Regions from separate parts of the Homo sapiens genome. Here region 1 is linked to region 2. Evidence: promoter capture Hi-C in 16 types of primary human blood cells and fetal thymus (Javierre and others, 2016). All regions are on one chromosome and are shown on one strand. The core of a region is centred on a gene start or on the middle of the fragment in contact, and the rest is flanking DNA. Distances in the headings are between cores, read along the strand shown. Region 1 overlaps LINC01581 (long intergenic non-protein coding RNA 1581). Region 2 holds the start of RGMA (repulsive guidance molecule BMP co-receptor a).

Region 1 (5,838 bases), core at 2,936-5,435, 980 kb before region 2:
TATACTTTTCCTGTTTCTGTCTGGGTAACTTCCCACACCCTACCAAGGGCAGTAGGACGGGGTCCGAGGATTGCAGGGTGCCGCCCACTATGCAGTTGGGATGCATCACAAGTGCACAGTTTCTATCACACAGTCACACTGCACACGATCACTGCCAAATGGTCTCTTCCTATTGCTCCAATCAGCAAGTACACTTTTAAGCCTGAAGACTTGGAGGTTATGAATTTCATGTTGGTTCTATGCCTGATGCCCAATTAGATTAGATTCTACTTTCAGCCCAAAAGAAAAAAAAAAACAAACAAACTTTTCTTTGGAAAAAAATAGTTTTTGTCCAATTTATATCTTAGGTTTACCATGGGGGCTTTAGTTTAAAGTTGTTCTCATTGGAGATTCTTGATTGGCTGGAAGCCCCTGGGCTGTGCTTATAAGAAGTGGCCAAATAACAATGGAATGATACCAATAGTGGTACTGGGTAATGTATTTAAGCATCGTGTTCATTGTTTTGCATTCATTACATCACTGCCAGTGACTCCAGGCCACATACCAGACACACTGAAGGAGCCTTTCCTAAAATACAGATTTCCAGGCCACAGCCCATGCCTCAGAACCTAGTGTAAAATTCTATATTTTAAAAAATATTTTATTAGTGATGTTAGTGCATAGAAATACAGCAAAAGGGGAAAAAATCCCGAGGGTGATAACTACTATCAATGACTGGAGTAGGAAAAGTCATTTCCTAAGGTCCTTTAGAAAGTGGTGAAATTGTAGACTGGAACTCAATCCATCCTGATCTCAGAGCTTGAAAACATAACCCCTACCTAAAGTGAAACAGGTCCAAGAGCACAGACCAATCCTGTGGGATGCTGAGGGTCACTACCTGTGTATTCTGACTCAGTGGGTGTAAGAAAAGGCCCAGGAATCTACATTTTACGGAGCCCTCTGTTACCCTACATGATTTTGATGCAGGTGACCTGAGAACCATATTTTTATAAAACTCCTCTACTTCCTCCAATCTAAAGAAAATAATGCAAACATGCTTTCTCCTAATTAGTTGGCCTATTTCTTAGCTTATCTAGTCAAATCAGCCATTTCCACTGACGTGTCATGAGACCCTTTTTATTTTTCCATCTCTCAATCTTTCTTATCTCTCTATAAGCAGATGACCAAATAATAGATCTGTTAATTCTGGAGCCTAGAGTTCTGAGACCTTAATCTCTTTTTTTTTTTTTTTTTTTCTGAGATAGAGTCTCACACTGTGACCCAGGCTGGAGTGCAGTGGTGCAATCTTTGCTCACTGCAACCTTCTCCTCCCAGGTTCAAGCAATTCCCCTGCCTCAGCCTCCCAAGTAGCTGGGATTACAGGCGTGTGTGACCACGCCCAGCTATTTTTTTTTAATTATTTTTTTATTTTTAGTAGAGATGGGGTTTCACCGTGTTGGCCATCATTCTGCCCTTTACTAGATTCAATCTTCTCGCTTTAGTACAAATTTCTGTTCACAATTTTTCTTCTCAGGATCTACACAAATTTACATAATCTGTGCCCTCCCTAAGTCATTTTCTAGCACTCTTGCTCCCCTTTGCTAAGATGACTATACTGGCCTTATTCTGTACATATTACATGTGAAGAGTTCTCAGGCAATTTATTCAAAAGGCCTTCCCATGCCCAAAGTGAAAATTCTCCCTTACGTGAAAGGCCGTATGAGGAAGTGGAAGGTGTTGGGTGTGCACTTATCATGACCATTAAGAACCGAGCCACAGAGTGGACCTGACAACGTGAGAATTCTAACTTTGCCGTGCAGTAGCCACAGCATCTTCAACAAGTTACTTAATCTTTTGGGGATCTCAATGTGATTATCCATGAAATGAAGATAATATCAGGACTATAACAAGAATTAAATGAAAACACGTGTAAATGTCAATTAGAATTACATTTAAAGTCAGACAGACTTAGATTTGAATTCTCCCTCTGCCACATGCTTGAAGTTAACCTCAGCAAGTCTCAGGTTATAAAATAAATATAAAATTGTCTACCTCATGGGGTGTGGTGGGGAGTGAGTGCAAATGCTAATGTTTAGAAAATTCCCAGAACATTTCCTAGCACATAGGAAATGCTTCATAAAAGTTAGTTATTATCCTCAGCTCCACTCCCAGAGGCCGGTTCAAAGAATCCACACTGCTAACAAGCCCAGATCACGTTAACTCATAGAACCCCTGATGTTCCAGGTACCTACAGTGAGTGTCTCAGAGAATGGGGCTCAATACAAGGGGGTAGGCTGAAGAGTCTTCATCTTCATCTCAAGGGCTGACTATGGGGGTCCCAGAAAAACTCTGCATACCCTAGAGTCACATTATAAGAAGTTTTTTCTTTTAAATTCAGGAAACTGCCCATAACGCGTTTCAGAAAAATGACCCGCAACCATGTCTGTCTCCGCTCTCGTGTTCCCACTGAGGTTGCAGATGCACAGTGCCTCTGTCCACCCCTCTGCATGTCGTTCTTTGGGCTGAGTCTGTTAGCTGTGGTCTCAGAATCCTTCTTAACATGGCATGCACGCTGAAACCTTATTTGCTCTCTCTTCAAGAAAAGATCCCTAAGCTGAGCTTAAACTTCATTCCATCACATACCCTGCTCCGAGCCTGTCATCTCAGAGCAGTGACTCTTGACTTCTTGTTGGCTTCACATTTATCATATTTGTAGCGATTTTATCACAGTTACTATTAACTTTGCATCAGCACAAAGGGCTCCACAGGCCCAGATGAACCAGAAGTATTTTGCCCCTTTATTTTCTTCAAACCTTTTGCTAAGAATAGCAACAAAACCAGAAAGCCCTGGAGCCTTCATCCTCATTTATTTCCATGCCTGGATATAATTTAAGGAGATGCACTAAAAATGTCAAAAGTGAACAAATTGAAAAGAGTGTTTCAATCCTCCAGGCATGAGACAAACTCTCCAGGAAACTAATCTTTAAAATATTTGGAACTGACCAAAGGTTAATTTTAAACCCTTAAGTGAAAAGTGATGGTTTTTGTCCTCATCTGCTGGGTACAATACTGCACACTGAGGTACAGTGGGAAGACAGTCCCTCTTTTCTGTTCCCACCACCCAAGGCACGGTCCCCCACAGCAGAGGCATCTCCGCTTCCTGTTTCCGCCATTTCAAGGGATGGCGCTCCCATCTCTTTAAGCTGCCGCTCTTCCAACTTGGCAGGGCTGATTAGGAAGACCCAGTTCCTGACCACCGATGCTTTGCTACGCTAGGCTGGAAAATGCCTCCCTCTGCCCTTGAGAAGGGGGTCTGAATGTTTTGCGGGACTGACACCGCAGCAACATGCCGGTGTGTTTCACGCTGCTGCCTCCTGTTTCCCTTGAAGCTTTCACCAGACCCTGGATTTCTTTTTCACTTCCTGTTCTGAGCCATCGCCGGGCACTCATTACCCACCAGCTGTGTCCCAGCTGCCGCATTCTACACTAGAGGTGGCGCCCTGCACCCGGCGGGTGAGTCATTCCCCTTCTGCCTGCTAGCACAGTGCATTAAACCTTCCGGGGTCTTTGTTTGGAAAGCAGCTCTATAAATGTCAAGTATTACTAACTGTGCAGGAGAGAGGTGGGAAAACCAAAGGGCTTGGGAAGACTGAAGAATTGAGTAAAACCTTGTTCGTTTGTTTACTTTTTTTTTTCTCCTGTTCTTTCCTTTCTTATCTGCCACTCTACTTTGGATTTCCAGGCTAGCCAAAGGATTGAAATGACCATCCCCATAAATATGTAAATTGACACAAATCTGCAAATACTAATCACTTTAAAATAAAACCGAGATCAGTAGTATTGCTCACATTCGTAGTAACTTTGGCACATAAAATAGAAATGTAGGTAAATCAGGCTTATTATCTTATCCATGAAAAGCTTTCAGTCTAATACAATGAAAGACAATATGCACAATAAGTGTGTGTCGAGATCAGGAAATAGTTCCGTTTCCTTGGAGACAGCAAAGTGTGCCAGGGCGTGGGTATCCCGTCTTGGTAGCTACTGCGGCTGTTTTTACAACCTTTTAACTCTGCTTGTTTTTTGTCTCACTCTTTTTGATATATCCTCTCATTAGAAGGCCGAGAGATCTTCCTTAGATGCCAGTCTTATCAGTCTTTTTCTTATTGCTTTTGTTAAAACCCTTAGAGACGACTGTGGAAAGAGCAAAGGCAACCCACTCAAGTGTAAGAGAAAATCTTCCTAAATTCATCCTTTCAATAGCTAAAAAATTACCCTACACACACTTTTTTTAAAAAGCTGTGATAACTTATCTACTATTGTTTTGAATGGCATGGTACAATGAAGATGTATATCCCAAGGTAGAAATTTTTCAAGAAACTATTTATATAATGACCCACTCTTAAATAAGATTTTTGACTTTGGGAAGAGATTTTGTTAGTGTACACATCTCCAAAGATCTATTGTCATTGATTAATATCCAGGATATCAAGCTTAGAAAATGTTATTTTCCTGATGTTTTGACTTTCTGAGGATGTAAATACTCAACACACCAAACCCAAGGCAGTATTAGCAAGTGGAAGCTTACAAAGTGAAAGACATCAAATGAGCACTTGATTATTTAGGTTATTTAGCTGAGTCTTACAACCCATTGGGGCTTTTTTCTCTCATTGAGTTAGGCAAAACTCTTTGGGGGTTCTTGCTGGATTCAAAGCCTACTGAATTATGAGCAGGCCCAGGCTTCTCTCAAAGGGAAAACTGTCCGGTAAACTAAGAGTTATTTCCCTTATACTAATTTCAAAAGTATTTTCAAAACTGATTCCAATAAATGCCATACTCTGAGGTACGATTCATAGTTGAATAAGAACTTATATTACATAGGCTTATCATATTAGTTTCCTACTGCTGATGTAACAAATTACACAAATGTAGTGGCTTAACACAGCACTAATTTACTATCTAACAGTTACAGAGGTCAGTTTCAAAATAGGTCTCACTGGGCTAAAATTAAAGTGTCAGCAGAGCTGTGTCCCTTTTGGAGGCTCTTGGGGATAATCTGTTTCCTTGACTTTCCCAGTTTTAAGAAGCTGTCTGTATTCCTTGGCTTGTGGCCCCTTCCTCCATCCTCAAAATTAGCAATTTTGGGTGCAGTCATTTTTCCATGCTGCCATCTCTCTGGGCCTTTTTTCTGATTTCCTCTTTCACTTTAGGTATCCTTGTGATTACACTGGGTCTACTGGGATAATTCAGGATAATCTTTCTATGTTAAGGTCAGCAAAATAGCACTCTTAATTCCACCTGCAACCTTAAATCCTCTTTGTCATAGAAGGGAACATATTCAATATACACCGAAAAGGATTTTTCTTAAAAAAGAAAGAGGCTTTATTTCATCAAGCAGTTTGCTTATGAGGAGATGCAGCCTTCCACATAAAACCAAAGTGTGTTCTGAGAGAATAAAAAGAGGGGTTGAATTTTACAGAGAAAGTTCCCACCCAGGTTTCCACTCTGGTCCACCATGCAAATGAGGGATGCAAGCTTGTTTAGTTCAGATTGGTTGAAGCTTGTTTTGTTCTGATTGGTCGAAGCAGGTCACAGTCTATTATTTAGGTCCAAGTGATGAGATGGGGCTTTCTGGCTGCCATTGATTGAGGTGGCATAAACAGGAACAGACAGGTATAAAAGTCCCAAAGTTACAAGAGCATGTGGTTTCTTCAGGAGCCAGAGTATGTGGGTGACCTCTAGTCAGCAATTGGCTGCTTGGCTCCATTTTAAATTCAGGCCCAGCTAGCCACTCAGGATCCATCTTGAGGGGTTGGCTCTTTCAGCTTCGCACACTGGGCCTACTGGTATGACCCAAGATAA
Region 2 (6,521 bases), core at 531-3,030:
GCTGGTTACTTTCCAAAGGCCTCATTTTAAAAAGACACGTTTCCACTTACAGACCTTTTAAAAATGCCAGGCAATTTGGAAGAACAGTAAGAAATCTACTATCTGCGTGACAGTCATTCAGAGATTCTTGTAGTGTGCCAGGCACCATATTAAGTGCTAGGAATGCAATGATGACTCCAAGGAGTCCTGGTTCCTGCCCTCATGATGCTTATGGTACGGTGGGAGAGGCCAACATGTAGGGAAAGGTCACTCTAATGAGCGCCTAATTACCGAGTGAGCTCAGTGTTAGGAAGGAAAGGCACGGATGTGAGGACTCCCTAGAGGGTGGGGAAGATGTTGGAGCTGAGCTATGAAAGATGAAGAAATTGGTTATTCACTGAATGTCAGGGCACAGAATGTCAGGGCAGGAAGACCACACACACACACACACACACACACACACACACACACACACACACCCTACTATTCATAGATGAGGAAACTGAGGCCCAGCAGAGCTAGATGACTTGCCGAAGGTCAGAGCTAATTCTAGAAACCCATCCCCAATCCCTTCCTGCTAAACCACTTAATTTTATTTATATCCCAGCTATAGATTATACAAATACACTTGACAAATAAAACGGAGAATATTGAGTTAAAACCACATCTCTGAAGACCACACGCATAAATAACGATCGTGTTTTAATGCGGACGATACCTTTTCATTTTGCAAATCCAGAGTTCTCATCATATCAAAATTCAAGACAGTTTGTTCTGTAAGAAGGGGAAGGTCATAACCCTGTCTAGAATGTACTGGCAAATCTCTCTAACCGTGCAGTGCTAATTTGGGCCTGAGCTGTGTAACCAGACCGACTTCACGCTCCAGCTGGGGTTTCAGATCCACACATGGCGATTGGGTGGCTCTTTGCTGTTTCACAGCAAGGGTCCTTCCCTGGGCTCCCGGAGCCTCTGGGGATTTACTGCTCCCGACGTGGCCGTGTTCAAGCCACTGTGTGCATGCGCTTAATGTTGAAAACATTCTTTTGAAAAGCCCAGGAGATTCCACTCGCAATCTGTGCGTGTGCATGTAAAAGCGCAGAGACTGGAAAGAACCGCGGCAGAGCACACCCTGACCGAAGGTTACCGCGGGGGAGCCGCGGCCGTGGGAGAGCCGCGGCCGTGGGAGGGAGTGCGATACGGTCTTTTCACTCTAGACACTCCTGAGTTATGTACAATTCTACGCAAGAATGTATGCGTGTGTTAGCATGTAATACATATGTATTAGTTTTTTCAGGAAGATTCTTAAACAACAACAAAATCTCTATAGAACAAAGGTGCGTCTCCGCAGAGCGCAACAGCATTTGTCTTGGATGTAACCGCCTTCTCCAGAAATCTCAGAGGAACTCCCCTCGACCACCGCCTAACTGAAGGACACCGTGCGCTCCACCGCAACCCTGCGGGCGATTCGGAAAGTTGGAGGCGCCCCGGGGAGTCGCCGCACTTGCCGCCCGCGCCCCCTAACCTGAGCATTCAAGGAGTCTTGACTTGGCCGCTGGCGCACTCCGCACCCACCCAGCCGGTGCTGATGCGGGAGGGTGGGGCCGCGGCGGGGCGGGGCAACGCGAGCCCGCACCCCGCTCCTCCCCGCCCCTCCCTGCCGGCCCCGCCCGCGCGCGCCCCCCGCCCGCGGCCCGGGCGCCCGGCCCGCCCCCTCCCCTCGGCGCGCAAACGAACCTCGCGACGCCGCGCTCGGCGGCGGGCGGGGGCCGGGCGAGGGAGGGGGCTGGTCCCGGCCGCCCCACTCTGCAGTTGTCTCCCGAGCGCTGGCTGCGCCGCCCGAGCCGCTGGGCCGGGGAAGCACTGGCCGTTCGCTCCCGGGCCGGCTCCGCCAGGCGCTCGCAGGCATGCAGCCCGGGAGCAGGAGGCGCTCCCCGGGCCGCTGCTGAGCCGGCCGGGGCGGCGGGGACCAGCGCCAGCGGAGCCCCTCCCACCTTGCCCCGGGGCAGACGAGCGGCGCCCCGACACCCCCTCTTCTCCCGCAGCCCCGCCAGCGCCACCCCCCGCGGGCCGCAGGGGCTCATGCAGCCGCCAAGGTAAGCGCGGGTCGGGAGCCGGGCAGACCCGGCTCTGACATCTCCGAGGCGCCGCCGACACATGCCGGGGCCACGGCGCTGCTTTGGTCTTCCTTAGCCCCGCGTCTCATCTTGCTCCCATCTTGCCCACATTTGGAGCTTTGCTGCGCCTCTATCGCTTTAGCTGTTGGCAGCAGGAAAGTTTTTGTGGTTTGGTGTTTGTTCTTTTTTCCTAAAATACTCTCCCCCGGGCAGCCGCCAGCGCGCGTGGTTGGGCAGACCCGGCACACGTCCCTTACACCGTGTGCGGGCTGGGAGCTCCTTCCCTCAGCCCGGCTCGCGGAGCCCCGGACGGAGCCGGCCACCCGACTGTCCCGCCGTGAACCCCCATTGGCCCGCGCCGCCCGGGCCCCCGCCTCCCGCTCGACGCCCGGCTGCGGAGCTGCCTGGCCATCTCCTGCCCTCGGGGATGTCGGCGCAGTGCACCGCGTGGGCTCGCGTCCCGGCGGCCCTTTGCCTCGGCGCGCCGGCGTACGGGAAGGTGCGGACCTTGGATTGAGGGCCGAGGATGCCCATTGCCAAGCCGCCCCGGCTTTCCTAAGTGGACGGGAGGGCACGGCGACGATTCAGCGCCGGCTCGCGCCGCAGCTCAACCCAGGGTACAAGCCCGGGCATGGGGGACAGGTGTATTCAATGGGAGGGCGGGTGTGGGGGACGCTCGGGTGCAATTCGGGATTGCGTCTTATTAATGTAATTGTATTAGACTTGCTCGGAGGTAGAATCAGTTCTCCCAAATTGAGATTTCTAATGGGAGCCTGTGAGCTGCTATTATGTGGTGTGGTTTTGGGAGGTGTTGGGTTGTATTTATTTTATAAATTGGGTGTCTCGCGGGCGGAGTAGGGGAAGTAGCGCCATCTAGCGGAAGTGGTGAGCTGTGCATTCCTCTTAGGCTGCGAAGTTGTTGGGTGTTCTCAAAGTAGTCTCCCGCACAAGGTGGAGAGGCGGGAACCAGCCCTCGCCTCCAGGAAGGAGGCTACAGAAGCTCTCTGAGTATCGACGGTACCAGGGAGAACCCCGACCTCCCATGCTCAGCACATTGAGCTCAGGGGACGAAATTGCGGGTCGTGTTGAGTGGCATGCTGTCACCTAAAGGAGCTCCATCACCTTCTCTGTTTGGTTTTAGACTCTTCCAGCAAAAACGTAATATAAAATGTTAACTGCTGTAAGAAGATGCCCCTTCCGCAGGTATCTGGTGCAGAGATCTTGAAAACCAATGCACAAACCTCTGTCTTCTCCTGTGCATCACAAACGGGTGATTTCTTGGGTGGATTTTGAGCCATGACCCCTAGAAAAGAGAGTAACTGTGCTCCGAAGGGCAACAGGAGGAGAACTGGGAGAGGGCCTCCTGCCCATTTGTGCAGGAACAGAATAGTGTACCCAAACTGGGTTTTGTGGTTTTTTTTTTTTTTTTTTTTGCACATACAAAGAAGGGGTTTCTTGCTGTTACCACAGCAAGTGACAAGCAAGCCCCCTTTACAGGGACATGATCTCCAATTAACAACTGGGGCAGACGTGGCTGGATGGCAAGTTCTGCAGACAAAGGCTCTGGGTGGGGCACCCACACATCCAGGCGGGCTCCACGTTCTCTGTGGCTGGTTTTTGCTGCCACCTTCCAGGCCAGATAATATATTAGCAGTGAGCTGGGCTCACCCGGTTCTGAAGGGCACCCTGGCCCCTTGTAGAGCAGTGTAGTGGTCTACTGTAGTACCCCCTTGAGACTCTCTGGGCTGTGCTGGTAGTGAAAGAGGTCTTAGCCTCCTTTTTTCAAGTACCCTGCTTCCATTATTTCCCTCCCAGGTGTCAGACAGTTGCTTACATTCTCCAATAGACATATGAAATGGTGGGTGGCTGGTCTGCCCCGTCATGCTGTCTCAAACTGTGTCTCCATTGGTAGGTATTTATGTCATCATGAGACTTGTGACAGACGAGGTCTTAGAATAGCTTGGCATCTCATTCAAGGAGGGCACCTTTGACTTTTGCTAAGAAACCTCTGCCTGCTTTCTCTTTTTACAAACCTCCTCCAAGGAATAACTTGCTGCTTCCCAGTGTATGTAATAATAGACAATAAAGGCACAAGAATCTCCTTTTTAATACAATCCCTTGCTCTTCAGCAGCCCTGTGAGAAGCCAAGCCCAAGAATTCTTAGACGAGCAGTTGCAAAATGAAATAAATAGGGACTGAGCATCCCTGACACTGGGACAGGGAGTTTTTCAGCCATTCTTCCAGGGATGCTTGCTGCTCCCAGGAAGCAGGCAGGAATGGGTGCTGGTATTTTCAGTTTCTCAGAAGAAACTGATGGCCAGAAAGCAGAAGGGATATGGCCAGTGTTCTGTGAGTCTAAAGTGCGTTTTTCCCCCTACAACCTTGCTACCAAATGAATTAAGTTCTAGCGCTTGTTTTTACCAAGTATGGTTGCAAAATTTGTTCCTGCCTTGAAGCATGCAGTATAGACATGAAAGAAGGCACGGTCACCGATCCATCAAGAAGCCTGCCATCCAGGGAAAGAGGCAGGAAGTATCCAAGTGCAATTGAGCAAAAACATAGAAGGATTATCTGAAAGCAGCGCAGGCAAATTGGAATCTGTTAGTTCTGTGAAACGAAATGACACTACTCCTTACAGGTAATTATTCTAGAACTTGACTTATAACATCCCAAAGGTAAGTTTAGTTAACTTTTAAGTGTCTGTGGTGTTCCTGTGGCTCTTTTAGGGAATGGCTTTGCTTCCATTATGTAGCCATTCCACAAACTTAACTGAACATAAATTTAACCTGAAGAAGGGAAGCTCCAGGTTTCCCCACCTGTTTGGTATCCAGCCTATCCAAAAGACAGGCTCCTCTTTTTCTTATTTTGAGCAAATGACTGCTCAGTTTCAGCCTCTCTTCTCTTAGCAACAGAGCTATAAAGGAGCAATGAATAGGGCAGTGGAAAAAATTAAGGATTGCCTTACCCAAGTATGCATACAAGGCCAGGCAGAAGTCAGTTTCCTTGGTGACAGATGAACAAATGAACTCTATTGAAAGGATACCCAGTTTCTTAGCCAGGTCCGTCCTGTGAGTAGAAGTGCTGTATCATGTTAGAACCCAGGGGTCAGGAGGCAAGAATGCCTAGTGAGGTGTGAAACTTTACAATTCTTAGGGCAGGAAGAAGAAGGAATTTTAAAAGTAGGGCAGAAATTGACAAAATAAATGCAAATGTCTTTTATAACCTCATATAAAAAGTTTTAAGTCACTGGTAACTGACTAACATAAAAATGTACTATGTACCTACCCAACTTACGAAATGATTATATCCAGATTACCACAGTAAATAATGGAAGTGTAGCAAACAGTTTATGCAGAGAGTGACTACAGAATTGCTGGTTGGATTTACTTTTCTCATTTTTCAGTTGCTTGTTTAAAGCAGTGCTATGAGGTGAAGAACTTTCAGAAAGCAAAATACTGGATTTCCCAGAGCCTGAAAATTAGGCAGAAGGTTTAAAGACTCTGTCAACTATCTGGTCAAAGGAGGCCAATTCCCATAGGTTCTGTGTCCTCTGTGGGCCAAAACAGAGATCAGCGGGTATGAGTAAAAACGCCCCAAAACTCATTGACTTCTGTCTTGGCAGGACATTTTAGTAGTTACCGTCTGTTGTGGCTTCTCCTTATATTTCATTTTTTCATCTTCATGGACTCTTAAGATCAGGGTCTTTGGAGCAGCTCACCCTGGCTGACAGGAACAGTTTGCTCTGTTTCCTGGTAATATTCCATTCTTCTGTCCTTGTGAAACAGAGATATTCTGCCTAATTTCTCAGTAAGAGTTTTGATAACATTATTTTATTCTTAGTGTACATTTCTTCTTGAAGATGGATGCAACCCATTTTTATCCTTTGTAGGTATTTTGAAGAATTTTCTCCTTGATGTCTTTAAACAAGATTAGGTGGAAGCATGCAACGTACATATACCTACCCCTGAAGGCCCCTACACATCCCTCACATTACTAGTATTGTCAGCCACAGTGCATACTCTTCTTTAGGATTCACTCCCCTATTAGACTTTTATACTTTTCTCAACTGATCTGCACCATGATGTGTCTCTCCTCTCCAGATTGTCTATTCAAAAACCCTGAGATAGCCAGGCACGGTGGTTCACTCCTGTAATCCCAGCACTTTGGGAGGCCAAGGCGGGCAGATCACTTGAGGTCAGGGGTTCGAGACCAGCATGGTCAACATGGTGAAACGCCGTCTCTACTAGAAGTGTAAAAACTGGCCGGGTGTGGCGGCACATGACTGTAGTCCCAGCTACTCCGGTGGCTGAGAGAGGAGAGTCGCTTGAACCCAGGAGGCGGAGGTTGCCGTGAACCAAGATCACACCACTGCACTCCAGCCTGGGCAACACAGCCAGACTCCATCTCAAAAAAAAACAAAAAACAAAA

Evidence for each region. The method cuts DNA at HindIII sites, captures the fragments that hold promoters and counts their contacts. A CHiCAGO score of 5 or more calls a contact.
Region 1: a contact is called between a fragment that was not itself captured here and the fragment with the promoter of RGMA in region 2, in 1 of 17 cell types (megakaryocytes). The highest score is 5.8, in megakaryocytes.

Annotation. Positions count from the first base shown.
Region 1 is chr15:94,068,178-94,074,015 of GRCh38, reverse strand. The region is part of intron 2 of LINC01581 (long intergenic non-protein coding RNA 1581); the gene reads left to right. LOC105369203 (a long non-coding RNA gene) reads left to right here. Exons shown (of 4, transcript XR_002957694.2): 2 at 3,369-3,492. Among named protein-coding and RNA genes, the nearest start is that of LINC01581, 37 kb to the left of the region's middle. The HindIII fragment of the contact is 572 bases long and covers 3,900-4,471 here.
Region 2 is chr15:93,084,470-93,090,990 of GRCh38, reverse strand. It overlaps RGMA (repulsive guidance molecule BMP co-receptor a), which reads left to right and starts at 1,780. Exons shown (of 4, transcript NM_020211.3): 1 at 1,780-2,072. The coding sequence starts at 2,059. It overlaps LOC101927025 (a long non-coding RNA gene), which reads right to left and starts at 1,777. Exons shown (of 5, transcript XR_007064769.1): 1 at 1,714-1,777. The HindIII fragment of the contact is 10,450 bases long and covers 1-6,521 here.